6 separate regions of the Homo sapiens genome follow, and all the other regions are linked to region 1. Evidence: promoter capture Hi-C in human tissues and cell types (Jung and others, 2019). All regions are on one chromosome and are shown on one strand. Each heading gives the region's core, a stretch centred on a gene start or on the middle of the fragment in contact. The rest is flanking DNA. Distances are from core to core; before and after follow the strand shown.

What was found. The method cuts DNA at HindIII sites, captures the fragments that hold promoters and counts their contacts. A contact is called where the count stands out against the background at its distance.
Region 2: a fragment that was not itself captured here is called in contact with the fragment with the promoter of ID2 in region 1 in 1 of the 25 tissues and cell types used here (aorta).
Region 3: a fragment that was not itself captured here is called in contact with the fragment with the promoter of ID2 in region 1 in 1 of the 25 tissues and cell types used here (dorsolateral prefrontal cortex).
Region 4: a fragment that was not itself captured here is called in contact with the fragment with the promoter of ID2 in region 1 in 1 of the 25 tissues and cell types used here (dorsolateral prefrontal cortex).
Region 5: a fragment that was not itself captured here is called in contact with the fragment with the promoter of ID2 in region 1 in 1 of the 25 tissues and cell types used here (mesendoderm cells).
Region 6: a contact is called between a fragment that was not itself captured here and the fragment with the promoter of ID2 in region 1, in 1 of the 25 tissues and cell types used here (lymphoblastoid cells).

Annotation. Positions count from the first base shown.
Region 1 is chr2:8,680,630-8,683,788 of GRCh38, reverse strand. ID2 (inhibitor of DNA binding 2) reads right to left here and starts at 1,733. Exons shown (of 3, transcript NM_002166.5): 1 at 1,276-1,733; 2 at 883-946; 3 at 1-104. The coding sequence starts at 1,623. The coding sequence ends at 890. It overlaps ID2-AS1 (ID2 antisense RNA 1), which reads left to right and starts at 1,926. Exons shown (of 4, transcript NR_110154.1): 1 at 1,926-1,962. RefSeq lists enhancers at 1,494-1,543, 2,031-2,534. The HindIII fragment of the contact is 9,558 bases long and covers 1,000-3,159 here.
Region 2 is chr2:7,221,044-7,224,202 of GRCh38, reverse strand. No RefSeq gene overlaps it. Among named protein-coding and RNA genes, the nearest start is that of GRASLND, 300 kb to the right of the region's middle. The HindIII fragment of the contact is 7,264 bases long and covers 1-3,159 here.
Region 3 is chr2:7,237,685-7,240,843 of GRCh38, reverse strand. No RefSeq gene overlaps it. Among named protein-coding and RNA genes, the nearest start is that of GRASLND, 320 kb to the right of the region's middle. The HindIII fragment of the contact is 3,186 bases long and covers 1-3,132 here.
Region 4 is chr2:7,378,915-7,382,073 of GRCh38, reverse strand. LOC105373406 (a long non-coding RNA gene) reads right to left here and starts at 1,896. Exons shown (of 5, transcript XR_922747.2): 1 at 1-1,896. The HindIII fragment of the contact is 9,223 bases long and covers 1-3,159 here.
Region 5 is chr2:7,534,415-7,537,573 of GRCh38, reverse strand. No RefSeq gene overlaps it. Among named protein-coding and RNA genes, the nearest start is that of LINC01871, 190 kb to the left of the region's middle. The HindIII fragment of the contact is 4,711 bases long and covers 1-3,159 here.
Region 6 is chr2:7,611,633-7,614,791 of GRCh38, reverse strand. No RefSeq gene overlaps it. Among named protein-coding and RNA genes, the nearest start is that of LINC01871, 110 kb to the left of the region's middle. The HindIII fragment of the contact is 3,212 bases long and covers 104-3,159 here.

The DNA of each region.
Region 1 (3,159 bases), core at 484-2,983:
TTGTCCTCCTTGTGAAATGGTTGAAAAATAAGTTCAGCACTTAAAAGATTCCGTGAATTTGTTGTTGTTGTTGTTGTGCAAAGAATAAAAGAAATCATGAACACCTGCGAAAGAGTGGGGGAGAAAGGCATGTTTAAGAGAATGTAACCTAAGGGCAGAGGCGGGCGACTGGCGCCGGGAGGAAGCCACAGTTTGAACATTTAACCAAACACTCAAAGATTGGGCAAACCCTGGCGTCCAGATGCAACACACACACTCGCCTCGACAGCGCAAATTAAACATTAAAATAGCAGAGACTCAAGGGAAAAACTTCCCAACCCAATCTCCTATTTGGATCTCCAACAGCAGTGCTACAGGCGCCAGTCTGCTTCTCGTAACAATTATTTGATTGAAAACAGCCCTTTAGTTAACAGATAGGGAAGTCTGGGATCCCACATCACAGGGTTGAAGGCACAGGGTAGCAATCCTCAACTAGCCCAGAGAATCCCAGAGGACTATAGTTTTAGGGAAGGAGGATCACTATGGAATTTGTGGCGGTAAGATTAATTACAGTGGAGGTTAGTACCTCATAGTACCAGAGGACTCGTAGGAAGATCCAGGGCATTACATTTGCTACAAAGCCAATACACACGTTCCTCGGCCGCCTTCGTAGTAAGTTATTGGCATCATTTCCTTTTAAAGGAAAATGTTCTGTGATCTCGAGCACCCAAAGCTACAAGCTCCTTCATGTCTAGTGAGACAATGTAGTACGGGTAACACCGCGAAGTAAGCATGCATTTACCAAATCAGACATTTTATAGATACACAAGCAAAAACACATGCGCGCGCGCGCACACACACCGAGGGGCAGTTTACCCACGGGTGGCACAAGCAAACACTCACCGCTTATTCAGCCACACAGTGCTTTGCTGTCATTTGACATTAACTCAGAAGGGAATTCAGAAGCCTGGAAAGAAAGAGGATAAAGAGTACGAGGTTAAGACAATGTTAAGTAGAAAGGGTTTTTTTTTTTTTTTTTTTTTTTTTGTAGTCCACAGACCAGCAAGTTCCATTAAACACGTTTATGGTAACAATTCAGATTTAAAGACAGACGCATTAACATGTCAGAACTTACTAGCAATTTCACGCACAGCTCAATCTACAGCAGATTCTGAAGAAAATAAAGTTAAATAGCTCATACGAAAGTCACCGTCTGGGCTACGGATCTCCTAGTGACAGCCCAGACGACCGCGGGAGTGTGCGGCGGCGGGGCGGGGACCCCGGAGCAGGTCTTACCTGCAAGGACAGGATGCTGATATCCGTGTTGAGGGTGGTCAGCGGCGTCCTGGACGCCTGGTTCTGCCCGGGTCTCTGGTGATGCAGGCTGACAATAGTGGGATGCGAGTCCAGGGCGATCTGCAGGTCCAAGATGTAGTCGATGACGTGCTGCAGGATTTCCATCTTGCTCACCTTCTTGTTCTGGGGGATGCTGGGCACCAGCTCCTTGAGCTTGGAGTAGCAGTCGTTCATGTTGTATAGCAGGCTCATCGGGTCGTCCACAGGGGTTTTGCTCCGGGAGATGCCCAGGCTGTGGTCCGACAGGCTGTTTTTCCTAACGGACCTCACGGGACTGAAGGCTTTCATGCTGACCGCGAGGGAAGGCGAGACCGGGAGGGAGCTGGCTGCCCTGAAGCTCAGGCCGCCGCTGCCGCCTGCTGAGCTAGCTGCGCTTGGCACCGGGCTCGGCTCAGAATGAAGCCCGAGCCCGGCGGGGCGGCTTTTATCCGCACTCGCCGGGGCCACACGCTGGAGCTTCCCTTCGTCCCCATTGGCGGAAGGTGGCACGTCTATCAAGACGAGCGGGCGCTTCCATTGGTGGGCGCGGGCGCGGGGCGTGGGCTTGGTTCTTCCGCGTTCGCAGCCAATCCCCGCGGGGTGGGCGGGGCGCGAGCCCAGCTGGGGTGGTAAATAGAGTACAGTACAGTAAGTGCGGGGCTGGCGGGGGGCGGGGGGCGGGGAGCGGCGGGCGGGGGGCGGGGAGGAGGGAGGCGGGAGGAGGGAGAGGAGGAGGGAGGAGGAAGAGAAGGGAAGATGGGGGAGGGGAAGGGGGAGGGGAAGGGGGAGGGGAAGGAGGAGGGAGAAGGGGGCAGACCCTGGGCGCCTAAATATGCATTCTTAATTCTAATTCCAAGCGCGCGGCGGGACCCTTGCCCTGGGGGTGTTCCCAGACCAAGCCCTACACACCTTAGAGCTGTCGGCAGCTCTAAAATCACAGCTACACGGGCGAGTTCAGCACCGCAGGGGGGAAGCCACAGTTCACTGCAACCCATCGGAGGGAGAGCGTGAGGAAAGATAGAAAGCATTTCAGAAGAAAGTGAAAACGCAAATTAGGTTGTCACTGAAGAGTCACGTTTGTAGAGTGAGTTCGTCTCTTCAGATAAGGAAAAGTTATGTTAACACAAACAAACCACCCACGCACGCATTCGACGACAGGCTTAGTGTGGGCTTTTGCAACCCGGAGCAGCGCGGGAGGCATTACTGTAAACTCAAGAAAATGAGTACTTATTGCAAACCATGCCCAACCTCACCGGTCGCTAAGGAGCTCTCACAGGCAGGGCGCTTTCAGGGTTCCTTTTCAAGAAGGAGGCAGGGCTATTATAATGATCGTATTAATCGGAAATAATTAGGAGAATTTGCATATTGAAACTACATTTACATACACTGCCCTTGAAAGGCTGCCGGTCTGTGCCCTTCCGTGTAGGTGGCAAAGTAATGTGATTAATTATGCACTAATTGTGATTTCTGGTGTCACATTCCAACACCTAGAGGAGTTCCAAAGCTTTGTGACAGATAGGTGGCCCTAGCCATTGATAGACATCTTCACACTAAGGAAAAAAAAATATTCTGTCATATGAGGTTTGGAATCTTTTCAGCACTAGTACTGAATACGGGTTCAAGGTTTTTTTTTTTTTTTTTGGCTGAAAATCTTTTAAGAACTCGTTCTTTCAGTCTAAGTTTTAAAAAGTTTGCAGCTATTTACTTAAATACCTTAATTTTCACATAATTGTAGCTTATCTAGAATTCTGTTTTGACCACAGTGTGTCAGTTTCTTGTTTTTGAAAATATTTGCTCCAGAAAACAATGAACTAGAAAACTCCAGGAAAGGCAATATTCAAATCT
Region 2 (3,159 bases), core at 487-2,986, 1.5 Mb after region 1:
TCTTTCACAGTGTTAATTCTAGTGATAACCCATACTTTATTTTGAAAAAAAATATTTATGTTGTCATTTAACTCTTCTAATGCCTTTTTGATATTTGGAGGAGGGAGAATTAATTTGTGCATTGGAGCAATTTGGGGAATAGGCATGGAGCTCCCAGAGCAGGCTTTTCAACTTTTAAAGCCCATATAAATCACTAGGAATCTTCATAAACTGCATATCCTGATTCAGTAGTGCTGAGGCAGGGCCTAGAAAAGTGTTTGTAACAAGATCCCAGATGGTGCCTCTGCTGCTGCACAGCAAGGTCCTAGAGAATGTTGGGCAATGACATGGGATGAATATAAGATTCCTCATGCTGCCTCAGTTCTGTAAAACCTGGGTGTTAGAACATCCATGCATACTCCTACAAAAGCAGACATGGTTCTAGATGTTTGACATAAACTTTAAAACAACAATAACAAAACTCTCCTAAAAGTCTCAATTTTGTTGCCAAAGACAGCTGACGTATATGTCACTGATGCAATAAATTTGGGGTTCATATAATGTAGGATGTGGTAGTTATTCTCATGTCTGCTCAAATTTCATTTGTTTCTAGTGGAGAGAATATTACTAATCCATCATCTTAGGAATGCTATTTAGAAAACCCACCCAGTCAAGCTATACTTTTTCTGGGCAAAAGGACATCAAAACATTTAGTGATGTTTGCCTTTAAAACTTAGCGATTACCTGACCATAATCAAAAGTACCATCTCCTGAGGAAAAACTTTTCACAAATATGAGGATATTTCAAAATGTTCATGAAGAATGCACGCCATGAAAAAGCTATGCATGAATTTAAAAAATTTTTGCACCAAAATAAACTTTGACTAACTTATAGTGCATCTGAACAGGATCTAGTTTGAGGTACTAAGAAAGACAAAAACACCAGTTTGAAAAGAACCCCTATCAGAGCAACAGGAATTCTAAAATTAAAGCAAGAATAAACATCAAATATGTGGTAAAACTTGGGTGAAAGAATGGGAAATTATTGATGCTTTATGAGTTTTGTGGGGACAATTTCAAAAAGAAATCAGCAGTTTACATATAGATAACTCATTTTAAGATGAGATAAGATGATGTTGAAGATGAAGCCCATAGCAGTAGACCATCCCCATCATTTATGAGAATAAATATTAATTTTGTTTGTGCCCTAATTAAAGAGAACTGGTGATTAATAGCATAAGGAATAGCAAACACCATAGACATCTCAAATAGTTCAGCTTAGACAACTCTGACTAAAAAATTAAAGTTGAGCAAAATTTCATGTAATGGGTGTCAAAATCATTGCACACAGATTAGCTAGAGACAAGTACAGAGCTCTCAATAGGCATTTTTTTAAATGGTGAGATTAAGATCCTGAGCTTTTTTTTTTTCGTTTATTTTTTTCTATTTTTTTATTTTTTTGAGACTGAGTCTCATTCTATTGCCAGTCTGGAGTGCAGTGGTGCCATCTCAGCTCACTGCAAACTCCAATTCCCTGGTTCAAATGATTCTCCTGCCTCAGCCTCCCAAGTAGCTGGATTACAGGCACGTGCCACCATACCCAGCTAATTTTTGTATTTTTAGTAGATATGGGGTTTCACCATGTTGGCCAGGATGGTCTTGATCTCCTGACCTCATGATCCACCCACCTTGGCCTCCCAAAGCGCTGGGATTACAGGTGTGAGCCACTGTACTGGCCCTGAGCATATTTTTGAAGAATACTTATGGGAGATAAAACACAGCTTTACCAGTACCATGCTGAAGACAATGCACAATCAGAGCAATGGCTACCAAGAGGTGTAGGTGGCCCAATCAAACCAAAAATAAACAAGTTAAGAACAAGAGTCATGGAAAAACTTTTTTGAAATTCTCAAGTCATTTTCCTTGTTGACTTTCTGGAGGACCAAGCAATGATAATATCTGCTGATTATCAGAGTGTTTTCAGAAAGTTAGCCAAACCTTTAGCAGAAAAACACCTGGGAAAGCTTCACCAGAGAGTCCCTCTCAACCATCACAATGCTCATGGTCATTTCTCTCACAAAACAAAGGTAATTTTCTAAGAGTTTCCATAAAAATTATTAGGTATCCACCTTACAGTCCTGATTTGGCCAGTTTTGACTCTTTTTTGTTTTCTAATCATAAAAAAAATCTATAAAGGAAAGCCATTTTTCTTTCATTGAAAATGTAAAAAAGACTTCATTGCTAAATCTAAATTTCCAGGACCCTCAGTTTTTTTAGGGATGAACTAAATTGCTGGTATCATCACTTATAAAACTGTCTTGACCATAATGGAGCTTATGTTAAGAAATAAAGTTTATATTTTAAAAATTTTATCTTTTAATTCCATTTTTCATAAACTTTTTGAAGTCCCTTTATATATTATTATGTAACCCCTTTTTCTAAGGCTGCACTTCAATTACATTTTTGTCTGTTGGTGAAAGTACAAGCATTACAATTCTCCATGAATAAAAATCTCACTAGCAATGCCTTTTTTTTAACAATTAAGGAAGGAGAGGCACAGGAGAATTGTAACTAATCCCAGGCCACTCAACAATTTAGGAAAAGAATCATGGCGAAGACCCATGTGGTGATTTCCAGTCTAATTTCTGTCTATGCTGCTGTAACATATAACTTTTAAGTACGGTCAATCCTCATTATACATGGATTCTGTATTTGCGAGTTCTCTCCTAAAATTTATTTTAACCCCCAAATCAATGCTATTGGCACTTTTGTAGTCATTTACAATGTGGGCAGAGAAGCAAAATATTTGAATCATCCAAAGCACAAGTTCCCAGCTGAGACTGAACAAGGCAACACTCTGCCTTCTTGTTTCAGCTCTCAGACTCTAAATAAGTGTCCCTTTTAAGGTCTATGTATGCTACATCTTTTGCTGGTGATTTTGCTGTTTAAAATGACCTCTACGCATAGTTCTGAAGATCTGTCTTGTGTACCTACGTGCAAGAAGACTATGATGTGCCTTATGGAAAAAATATGTCGGTTTTAGATAAGCTTAATTCAGGCCAAGTTATCATGCAATTGGTTGTGAGTTCAATTTCAATTAATCAACAATATGTCATAAATAAGGTGTCTTTAAACAGAACTATACATAAAACAAGGTTGTGTATTGGTTGGTTGATGATC
Region 3 (3,159 bases), core at 290-2,789, 1.4 Mb after region 1:
TTAAAATCACCTTAATTCTGATTTAATTTCAATAAAACTACAAAACTGCTATTTAACACACTTTGTCTAGCAATTGACTAAAATGCTGTGATTATATATAATTATTTTAATATAATAATGTTAAAATTATATATAAATATATATTAAAATATTACGTAATTATCTTTGCATATGTATTCAGATGCTGTGATTATATAATTTTATTTATGTGTGTGTGTATATATATATATATATATATATATAAAATTGTCTTCTTTTTTTTTAACTTTGCTCTTAACCCCTCATTTGCCTTGTGCCCAACTTCTGAAGGCATCTCTAGAGACCCTTTCAACCATTGCAGTTCCTCCTCGGCCTACAGAAGCCAGTGGAGGAAAAGATGCTTCTCTTCTGGGTACCACACTAACTGACATGAGGCAGCTTACCTTCTAAGGGAGCTGATCGCTGGAGATGGGTTATGCTAGCCGACTGAGGATTAGAGACAACAGGGTCTTGTTCACAGTGAGCTGGACCTCAGAGTTTTACCATTTGGCATAGAAATTTAACTCTGATCCCATAAAGTACCCTGCTTAGAAAATGGACTGCATCCACTTTAATTATCCAAAGCTTCCCGGCTGCCAGAGCCAGGTGCATAGTCAGGCCCTCGCGCGCTCGTGAACCCCTCAGGATGCAGTTACAGGCACAGTAACTAGAGAAGCACACCCAAATCAAATTTAAATTGTAATTAATTGTTGGATATTCATTTTTAAAACTAGCTTCAAAATCCAAGTTTATACATTTTTTTTTCTTAGATAGATCTACTTTTTCTTTAAAAACTTTACTCTTTAGGTTGGCCTGAATCCGGCCAGTGATCTCATGATTCTAACATTCATGTGAATATTCTGATATGCTTTGAGGACCCTTCTTTTCTTTCTTACAGGTATTGACAAATTAGCACTGCCTGTCTCAGGTAGGGGACACCATTGCTTCTTTAGGAGAAAGCAATATGTGTAGTGGTGAGAACGCAGGTATTGGAGACAGAATTGGCTTCTAATTCTTGTTCTTCTACTTACTAGTTTTATGGTATCAGTCAAATTAAGTATTCTCTTCAAGCCTCAGTTTCCTCATCTGTAAATTGGGGATAATTATAAAAATGGCAGCTATTGTATTTTCATATTATTCTATTTTGCTTTGTCTATTTACTTTTATATTATTTCATAATCCTACATCACTTATAACTTAAAGAATACATCTTCCTGAGGCCAGGCATGGTAACTCATGCCTGTAATCCCAGCATTTTTGGAGGCCGAGACAGGCAGACTGCATGAGCTCAGGAGTTCAAGACAAGCCTGAGCAACAGGGTGGAACCCCATCTCTGCAAAAAATTAGCCAGGTGTGGTGGCATGCACCCGTAGTCTCAGCTACTTGGGAGGCTGAGGATCACCTGAGGCTGGGGAGGTCAAGGCTGCAGTGAGCTGTGATTGCACTACTGCACTGCAGCCTCAGTAACAGAGTGAGACCCTATCAAGAAAAAAAAAAAAAAAAGAATGTCTTCCTTTCCTATAATGCGAATTACTACTAAAAATGTCAACATTGCATTTCTGATTTCCACTCCATGAGTTAAACTCTCCAATTACATCATCACTAAATATTTAGGTGGTTTAATCCATATTTTCCCTATTCATTGAAGAATATAGAAAGTGAAAGCAATTTATAACTTCCCTTTAATACACCTGGATATTAGTTATTGGTTCAATTTGGACTGTGCAGTTTCATAAAGCAAACGGATTTTTCCCCACAAAACTATGAATTTATGAAAGCTGGAAATAAATTATATCCTTTGATACATGTTTTATAGAGACATGAAAAGTGAGGATTAAAATCATTTGTTTTATTTTTTCTTTTTTCAGGATTCACCAATAGGTGTACATTAATATTTTCCTTGCCTTGGAGAATTCAACTCAATTCCAAGTGTTCTAAAAGAGACAAAACAATTTAACACCAAAAGATGTAATCCAATTTCTTGCATACCCCCCTTCCCTGGAAGCTTCATTATAAAGCTTGTCTCAGGCCTTATAGATGACTTTTAAAACCTACTTTAAAAGATTCGGAGTTTAATATGAAATGGTAAAATGTGATAGTGAGGGCTTCTTAATGTGATAGTAAGGGCTTCCTAATGTCCCCAGTAAGAAACATCATTGAATAGAGGACCAAACATGCCATCTTTGTCAGGAGTGGGCACGATCAGAGGCTCCTGAGGAGAGGGCAGCGGGATCCACCTTGTACTGAAAAATCACAGTGGGTCTGAATGTTCGTGTTCCTACAAAACTCATAGGTTGACATCCTGACCCTCAAGGTGACGGTATTAGAAGATGAGATCTTTAGGGAGTGATTAGATCATGGGGATGACAACCTCATGAATAGAATTAGTGTTTTCATAAAAGATGCCCAGGACAGACCATTACCTCCTCCACCGTGTGAGGATACAGCCAGAAGCAGCCACTCATGAATCAGGAAGCGGTCCCTCACCAGACACCAAATCTGCCGGCACCTAGATCTTGGAATTCTAGCCTCCAGAATTGTGAGAAATAAATTTCTGTAGTTTATAAGCCACCCAGTATTTTTGCTGTAGCAGCTGGAATATACTAAGACCGTATCTCTTTTTGTGTCCTTCACTGTCATTGATCAGGAATTTTTAAATTTCAGAAGGAATTCTTATTTTTCAAAGATTAATGAACACACTCATTTTATGTTGACTTCATTGATAAAATCTAGAATAGAATAAAGAAAGAATTCCAAATTCTCATACAGATTTCCTTTAGGACACTCTTCTTAGATACTTAGAAAGGAAACAAAGAAGAAAACTCCTAAAACAATAATGCCAAATTTGAAGAAAAAGCTAAACTTGAAACTTTGTGATTTTAGGCACATTAGTTTCTTTTTAGCTGTATTTTCCATCACCTAACCCATTCAAAATCCTTTTCCTGACATAGTATAACTGAAAGCAGGTAAAGAGGTAAAGGGAAGAATAAGTTTCCTTTGCTCTCTCTGGATGTTGCCTGGGCACTGACATTTGCAATTCAGTATGCTTCTCAGTCCCCAACCGGTCCTGGAAGTCCAGATCATCGTGGAAGCCAAGAACACCTTCTGCCCTCTGATTTTGGCACAGCGGTGGCCACTTCA
Region 4 (3,159 bases), core at 297-2,796, 1.3 Mb after region 1:
CAAAGCTGCTTGGGTCACCTCAGATTAAGTCACTGCTATAAATAGAATTTTGTCCCCCCAAAATTCCTATGTGGAAGCCCTAGCCCGCAATGCGATGGTAGTTAGAGACAGGGCTTTGGGAGGGTCATTAGGTTGAGATGAGGTCATGAGGGTAAGGCTCCCATGATAGGATTAGTGCCCTTATAAGAAACAGCTCTCTCTCCATCTCTTTGTCTTTCTCTCCCTCTCTTTCTCTGCAGATGCACCAAGCAAAGGCCATGTGAACACACACAATATGATGTCTGTTTACAAGACAGGAAGAGATGCTTCACCAGAGCATGACCTTGCTGGCACTATGATCTTGGACTTCCAGTCTCCAGAACTGTGAGCAAGTACATTTCTGTTGCTTACGCCAACAGAAGTGTGGAATTTTACTATGGCAGCCCTAGCTGACTGAGACACTCGCCATTCTCTTTGAAACTAGATGCCACCAATGTGAAAGTCCTTACATTTTCCTGTGAAGTCTCCACATGTGCATGCTGAGCTCCTGAGAACAGACCCTGTCTTATATGTGACTCTAGTCACAGGCACTTCTGAGTACCTGCTCTGTTAGCCACTGTGCTAGAGGGAACTGAGATGAATCCTGCCTCATGGAATCCAGAGGAGATAGCTGTGCATGCTAAGAACTAGAATGATACACAGAATGCCAGGCAACCTCCACTATAAATGGTATGAAGGGCCTGATTCTTAGAACTTCTTTATCAGGTTTGCTTTACTGATTGAAAAACAATCTAGAATATCAGTGTAAAAAGTTAAAAAAAAAAAAAGAGTTTAGAGGAATAGAGTTTGCCCAAGACAGTTAGAGGATACAGTCCCCAAGACCTCTCTTACTTCTGACATGAACCTCAAGGTTGGCGGGGGGATCCACAAACTACCCTCAGTTTTGAAAATTTACTAGAAGGGCTCACAGAACAGTTACACCCATGGCTTTGGTTTATTGCAGGGAAAGGATACAGATTAAAATCAGCCAGAGGAAGAGATGCTTAGGGCAGAGTCTGAGAGGGTTTCAAACAGAAGCTTCAACGGCCCTCTCGCCTTGAAGTGAGTTCACCTCACCCTCCTGGCATCAATGTGTGGCGATAGGCAGGGAGTGCTGTCAACCAGGAAAGCTCTCCTGGGTGTCTCTATTCAGTCTTCCTGGAGCTCTAGTCTGTAGGATTGAATGAAACACTTGAGGTGGTGATTGTTTTGTCCCTGAGTCACTGGATCTGGATGACTCTTATCAAAATTGATGAAGGGGACGATAGGGGACTGGGGAATTTCTTTAATAAGCTGGAGGCAGGAATAAATTGCCATTTAAGCCTCACTCCCAGGCTGAGTCCAGAAAAATTATTTTTAGGTGTGTATCTATGCTAGGCTGTAGGGTAAATACAATAGGCTAGAGAAAGAAAAGTTATTTCTTAGAAGTCAAGTATTCATGAAGTAGGCATAAAATAAAACTATTCAACTAAGTGCTTTGGATACATAGTAGAAAAAAGATATAAAAATATTTTGAATCTAAGAAAGTCAAGACGTTATGTGACTCAAGATGGTCTGCATGTGACAATAGTTGCCAAAGCATGTATTGTGTTGGAACCGCTCACCACACCATCAGCTGAAAGAAGGTTGAGACATTTGGTGTCATATCTAAAGACCTTTTTGATCTGGCCTCGGCCTATTTTCCTTGGGGGTTGAGTGCTTTCTCTCACCTCCTTTGCCTTTGCACATGGTTTTCAATCTATCTGAAAGGAAACGTGAGCCAATACTACCACTACCAAAGTCTTTTGGCCTTATGAGCACCATGTTTTCTCAAGCCTCACCCCATGTATAAAGCCATCCCCAACTCCTCCAGGTATAGTCTTGGGACATTGACTTCCACAGCTGTTCTTCACCTACCTTCCCCAGTCTCCACAGAACCACCACCACCACCACCACCACCACCACCACCACCACCACCACCACCATCACCACCACCATAACCACCACCACCGGCAACTCCAATGTCATGGCTTTCCTGAAGCCCGTGCAGTGTCCCTAGATGGTGCCCCTGCTGCGCTTCCTTCCCATGCTCCTCTTGAGAGAGATGTCCATACTCCCACATGTAGCAGAGTTTATATAGAGGCTTATACTCACTCCACTGCCAGACTGCAATCCTTGAGAAGAAACACAGATGTTTGATTCATTGTTGTATGCCTACAATGACCAGCATCTAATAAGAAAACTAGCATTGATAGAAGGAGAGAAAAGAATAGAGCAACTCTGCAAGAATATAGGTTGAATAAGTATGTGTTGGCTGAACAATGTAATTTTATTAACGAGGATACGTTTTACCACTATTTACATAGAGGCTATTGTACTCTGCTGGAACTCTCATTGCATTAGTTTCCTAAGGGCTGCCCTAACAAAGTACTACATCCTGGGTAGCATAAAATAAGAGGAATGGCTCCTCTCACAGCGTTGGAGGCTAGAAGTCAAGTCAGGGCACTGGCAGGGTCATAATCCCTCTGAAGCCTCTAAGGGAATCTCCTTCCTTGTCTCTTCCAGCTACTGGTAGCCCCAGCCTTCCCTTGGCTTGTGATACACAACTCATATCTCAGCTTCTATCCCCACATAGCTGTCTTCACATAGTCTTCACTCTGTGGACACCTGCCTTCACATTTTCTTCTTTTTATAAAGACACTTGTTCTATTGTATTAGGAGCCCACCTCACTCCAGGATGACTTCATTTTAACTTAACTAATTACATCTGTAACATGACTTAGTTTCCAAATAAGGTTGCATTTTGAGTTTCTGGGGTTAAGACTTTCACATATATTTTTGGAAGACATGATTTAGCTTAATACTGGTTTTACTCTTGCATAGACAGGGTGATTTATACTTTCTTGCAGTGTCTATGTAACTTGAAGCCTTAATTCATTAAGATTAGTGTGATTTTTATTTTGTTACTTTTTCTTCATCCACTCATTTCCTTTGTCACTTTAAAATATATATATATTTTAAAGTTGAGACAGCAGCCAGGGCTGTAGGCAGAGCCTGACTCTGATGGCCCTCTGGCCCTTCAGATGGGCAGTTTCTCAGTGGCAATGACAAGAAACCCAGGCAGCCACACGCACACACATGCCACATGGCTTTGCAAACGAG
Region 5 (3,159 bases), core at 227-2,726, 1.1 Mb after region 1:
CTAACAGCACTAGACATGTCATCAAGACAGAAAGTTAACAAAAAAAATGGAATTGAACTATATCCAGAAAAAATGGACTTAACAGATATTTACAGGATATTCTAGCCAACAACTGCAAAATATACATTCTACTCATCGGCACATGGAAAATTCTCCAAGATAGACCATATGATATGGCAGAAAATGACTCTTAGTAAATTTAAGAAAATCAAAATTACATCAAGCACTCTTTCAGACCACAGTGGAATAAAATTGGAAATTAAATCCAAAAAGAACCCTCAAAACCATGCAAACACATAGAAATTAAATAACTTGCTCCTGAATGATCACTGGGTCAACAATGAAATAAAGATGAAAATTAAAAAATTCTTTGAACTGAACAATAATAGTGACACAACTTACCAAAACCTCTGAGATATAGCAAAAGTAGTGCTAAGAAGAAAATTCGTAGCATTAAATGCCCACATCAAAAAGTCTGAAAGAGCACAAATAGATAATCTAAGGTCACACCTCACAGACCTGGAGAAACAAGAACAATCCAACCCAAACATAGCAGAAGAAAAGAATAACAAAGATCAGAGCAGAACTAAATGTAATTGAAACAAAAAAATACAAAAGATAAATGAAACAAAAAGCTGGTTCTTTGAAAAGATAAATTGATAGACCGTTAGTAAGATTAACCAAGAAAAGAAAAGATCCAAATAAGCTCAACTAGAAATGAAATAAGAGATATTACTACTGATACCAAAGAAATACAAAAGGTTATTCAAGGCTACTGTAAACACCTTTACATGCACAAACTAGAAAATCTAGAGGAGATGGATAGATTCCTGGAAATACACAACCCTCCTACATTAAGCCAGAAAGATATAGAAACTCTGAACAGACCAATAACAAGCAGCAAGATTGAAATGGGAATTTAAAAATTGTCAACAAAAAAAGTCCAGGACAAGACAGAGTCATAGCTAAATTCTATCAGACATTCAAAGAAGAAGTGGTCCCAATCCTACTGACACTATTCTACAGAAAAGAGAAGGAGGGAATTCTCCCTAAATCATTCTATGAAACCAATATTACCCTAATTCCAAAACCAGGGAAGGACATAACAAAAAAATAAACTGTAGGCCAATACCCCTGTTAAACATAGATGCAAAAATCCTCAAAAAATACTAGCTAACTGAGTCCAACAGCATATCATCAAAAAGAAAATCCACCATGATCAAGTGGGTTTCATACCAGTGATGTGGAAATGGTTTAACAACCACAAGTCAATAAATGTTATACACCACATAAACAGAATTAAAAACATAAATCACATGATCATCTCAATAGATGCAGAAAACACCTTTGACAAAATCCAGCATCCTTTTATGATTAAAACTTTCAGCAAAATCTGAATGGAAGGGACATACCTTAAGGTAATAAAAGCCATCTATGACAAACCCACAGCCAACATTATACTGAACAGGAGAAAGTTGAAAGCATTCCCCCTGAGAACTGGAACAAGAAAAGTGTGTCCACTTTCACTGCTTCTATTCAACATGGTACTGGAAGTTCTAGCCAGAGCAATCAGACAAGAGAAAAAAATCAAGGGCATCCAAACTGGTAAAGAGGAAATCAAACTGCTGCTCTTTGCTGATGACATGATTGTATACCTAGAAAACCCTCAAGACTCACTCAAAAAGCTCCTAGAACTGGTAAATGAATTAAGCAAAGTTTCAGGATACAAAATCAATGTACACAAATCAGTAGCTCTGCTATACACCAGCAGTGACAAAGCTGAGAATCAAATCAAAAACTCAACCTGTGTTACAATAGCTGCAACAAAAAATAAAATACTTAGGAATATACCTAACCAAGGAGGTGAAAGACCTCTACAAGGAAAGCTACAAAACACTGCTGAAAGAAATCATAGACAACACAAACAAACGGAAACACCTTCCATGCTCATGGAAGGGTAGAATCAATATTGTGAAAATGACCATACTGCCAAAGCAATCTACCAATTCAATACAATTCCCATCAAAATACCACCATCATTCTTCACAGTACTAGAAAAAAACAATCTTAACATTCGTATAAAATGAAAAAAGAGCCTGCGAAACAAGCAAGACTAAGGAAAAAGAACAAATCTGGAGGCATCACATTACCTGACTTCAAACTATACTTTAAGGCCATAGTCACCCAAACAACATGGTACTGGTATAAAAAGAGGCACATAGACCAAGAAACAGAATAGATAATCCAAAAATAAAGCCAGATAGTTACAGCCAGCTGATCTTTGACAAAGCCAACAAAAACATAAAGAATGAAAGGACACCCTATTGAACAAATGGCGCTGGGATAATTGGCAAGCCACATGCAGAAGAATGAAACTTGATCCTCATCTCTCACCTTATACAAAAATCAACTCAAGATAGATCAAAGACTTAAATCTAAGACCAGAAACCATAAAAATTCTAGAAGATAACATCAGAAACCCCACCCCCACCCCGCCCAGACATTGCTTAGGCAAAGACTTTGTGACACAGAACCCAAAAGCAAATACAACAAAAACAAAGATAAATAGATGGGACTTAATTAACAAAAAAGCTTCTGCACAGCAAAATAAATAATCAGCAGTTAAAAGACAACATACAGAGTGGGAGAAAATCTTCACAGTCTATATATCTGACAAAGGACGAATATCCAGAATCTACAAAGAATTCAAACAAATCAGTAAGAAAATAAATCAATCTGATCAAAAAGTGGGCTAAGGACATAAATAGACAATTCTCAAAAAAAGATATACAAATGGACAACAAGCATATGGAAAAATGCTTAACATCACTAATTATCAGGGAAATGCAAATCAAAACTACAATTCAATAGCACCTCACTCCTGCAACAATGGCCATAATAAAAAAATGAAAAGATAATAAATGTTGGTATGGATGTAGTGAAAAGAGAACACTTTTACACTGTTGGTGGGAATGTAAACTAGTACAAACACTATGGAAAATAGTATGGAGATGCACTAAAGTACTAAAGGTGGATCTACTTTAGTTGGATCAAAGGTTTGATCCAACAATCCCACTACTAGGCATCTACCCAGAGGAAAAGAAGTCATTTATATGAAAAAGATACTTGCACACGCATGTTTATAGCAGAACAACCAGC
Region 6 (3,159 bases), core at 460-2,959, 1.1 Mb after region 1:
TCAATAGAGGTGGAGGGGGGAGCTGAGACAGATGTAGGAGAGCCCAATTTGTGAGACTGTTCGAGGAAGAATGGGATGGAGAGCAAAGCCATCTATAAACAAAGAACCAAAGCATTTCCTCCTCTTCAAGAAGGCACTAAAACTTGAGTGTGCTTAAGCAACGCCTGGGTCCCAGCCCAGGTCCTGAGTATCAGAATCTCCCTGCCTTGCCAGCCTGACAAGGTGGATGAGGTGATGGAGGGAGTCCACAGAGGCAGCTTATGTGAAACGTCTTGTTAACTCTGCTGCTTCACAGATAGAGGGGTTAGTCCTGGGCTTCTTCAGGACCACGCATAAGAAACTAAATCAGCAGGAATGAAATGCATGTGGAAATCAGGAACTACTCCGGGAGTGATGGATTCATCTCTTTACTTATTCATTTACTTTTTCTTCACTTAAGATTTCCTGGGTGTATTCTGCGTGTCCGACATGATTCTCAATGCTGGGCTCACACAAGGGAACAAAAACGACACAGCTGCTGCCCTTCTAGGACTTACATTTTAGCAGATGGGGCAGCCCACAGACCACCAGATAAACGTATGATGTCACGTGGTGAGAAGGTATGACGGAGATTTCTGAGGAGGGGATATTTGAGCAGAGTCCTGAACGATGGGCACATGATCCCATGTGCATATCCAGGTGGTGGGCACAGCAAGACCAAGTATCTCAGGCAGGGCTTTGCTGGGTTTGCTTGAGGATCAGGAAGAAAATCTGCAGAGCAGCAGCAGGAGGCGTGGTGGGACTCAGGCTGGGGTGCATGGCAGGCTGCAGGAGGGGCTTATGGTACTGGTGAGGCCGTGGGTTTTAACTGAGAGAGGAAGCCATTGTAGGGTGGTCTTCAGTAGAAGAACTTTGTGACCTAATTTAATTGTCAATGGCTCACTCTCACCTGTAGAAGGAGAGACCAGGGCAGCTGAGATGGGGAGGTCAGCAAAGAGCCCATTACAACAGTCCAGGGACCAGCGATGGTGGGACAGGCTAAAGGCTTACTGGCATAGGATGTTCTTTGAAAGAGCTGTTGACCCAGCTCTTGGGGTCTGCTTTGAAAGACTTCACTCCCGTTGAAATCAACATGCCTGCATTGTATGCACAAGGCCCTCGTCGCCACAGCCACTGGGACGTTCTAGGTGGTCTTTGAGGTGTGCACATCACACAAGGATCAAGAGAATATGAAAAATCCAGAACATAGCTTGTGGTCCTCAGAGGAGGAATTTGATAATTTGGACCTCACGTTTTGCTCAAATGTTACTGATTTTCTGTGTTATGCATGCACACGTGTGTGTGATATTGACACATCCTGCTTATGAACAAAACGTAACTCAGAGTTACTCATTTTTATGAATTCATGCTAAATGCAAGCATTGCCCTAAGCTTATTACCTATTATCTCATTTAATTATCACAAGAAACGAAGACTGGTATTATTATACTTTTTCAGAGATAAGGAAACTTGAAGCCCAAAGACTCTAAGACCTTGCCCAAGGTTTCAAAGATAATAACTAAAATAACAGGCATTGTCCTAACAGTTCCGTCTGATGACAGACCTCATGGTCTTTGAACAATACCATGCTGCCTAACTGAAGAATTTCAGATGAGAACTTCAGACAAATATTTGTAGCAGATTACCATAGGGTGACTCACTCAAGCACCCATTCCTGTTCTTCTTTACCCTTGCTTTCTTCTTTTATAAAGTCAGGAAAGCAGCAGCCATAGTAGCTCATGCCTGTAATGCCAGCACTTTGGGAGGCCAAGGAGGAAAGATCGCTTCAGCCCAGGAGTTTGAGACTAGCCTGGACAATATGGTGAGACCTGTCTCTACAAAAAAATATTTTAAAAATAGCCAGAATTGGTGGCACATACCTGTAGTCTCAGCTACCCAGGAGGCTGAGGCAGGAGGATCGCTTGAGCCCAAAGCTGCTGTGAGCTGTGATTGCACCACTGCACTCCAGCCCGAGTGACAGAGAAAGACCCTATCTCAAAAAAAAAAAAAAAAAAAGACAGGAAAGCCACATATCTGATGTTTGATTTTCATTTCCAGTTTTGAGCTAGCAATAGCCACATAGGACAACTGTGTCCTCTGAGACATGAATGGACATCTGCTGAGAAAGGCTTCTTCTCTAAGTAGAATGCAAAGCCTTGCAAGAAGAAGGGTTTTAAATTCTTCTTCCACCTTCAATGCCTGGCGGTATGGCAGCCATCTTGTGACTATGAGGACAAAAGCCACACAGTCAAAAGAGCAAAGCCAAAAAATAGAAGGAATCTGTGGCTTTGTTATTCGATTGTTCACTGTGAACATCATTGTGACGTCTTTACTGGCTGAGTGTTTTGCATGTTAGCTCCTTGATAGTAATCATCCTCTTTTTTTTTTTAGGTGGAGTCTCGCTCTGTCACCCAGGCTGGAATGCAATGGTGCGATCTTGGCTCACTGCAACCTCTGCCTCCCAGGTTCAAGCGATTCTCCTGCCTCAGCCTCTGGAGCAGCTGGAATTACCAGCATGTGCCACCACGCCCAGTTAATTGTTTGTATTTTTAGTAGAGACAGGATTTCACCATGTTGGTCAGGCTGGTCTCAAACTCCTGACCCCCGTGATCCAACTGCCTCGGCCTACCAAAGTGCTGGGATTACAGGCGTGAGCCACCACACCCAGCCGGTACTTTTAACTGATTTATGCTACAATCTGTAAGAATAGTGGGTTTCTTCCACTTTTCTACATGTTATAGTCTTGAGAAGAACCCTAGTGCTCAAAGGTGTCTTGAGGTCACCTAACTTGAGAGCTGAAGACACTCAGGCCCCGAGGGCCCAGGCTTGAGCAAACACAAGAGTCCTTGCATAGGTTATTTGACTCTCAGCCCATAGTTCCTGCCACTAATTCCAGCTGCCACATCAATCTGAGAATTTAGTGTCTGACTGACACTTTCTATTTCCAGAGCAGAAGCCTGCCTATAGGAACAGTTAGAAACACTTTCTTCTTGGCGATGAAGATTGGAAAGCTGGGGCTGGGATCGAGGTAGGGGTGAGCCGGCTTCTAGGAAAGCCAAGCATCTACAAGTGCATCCACCCCGAGGCATCAAAACAGTGCAGTCTGTGTGGTTAGCTGTTCACGGAAAGCAGATTCAGAAA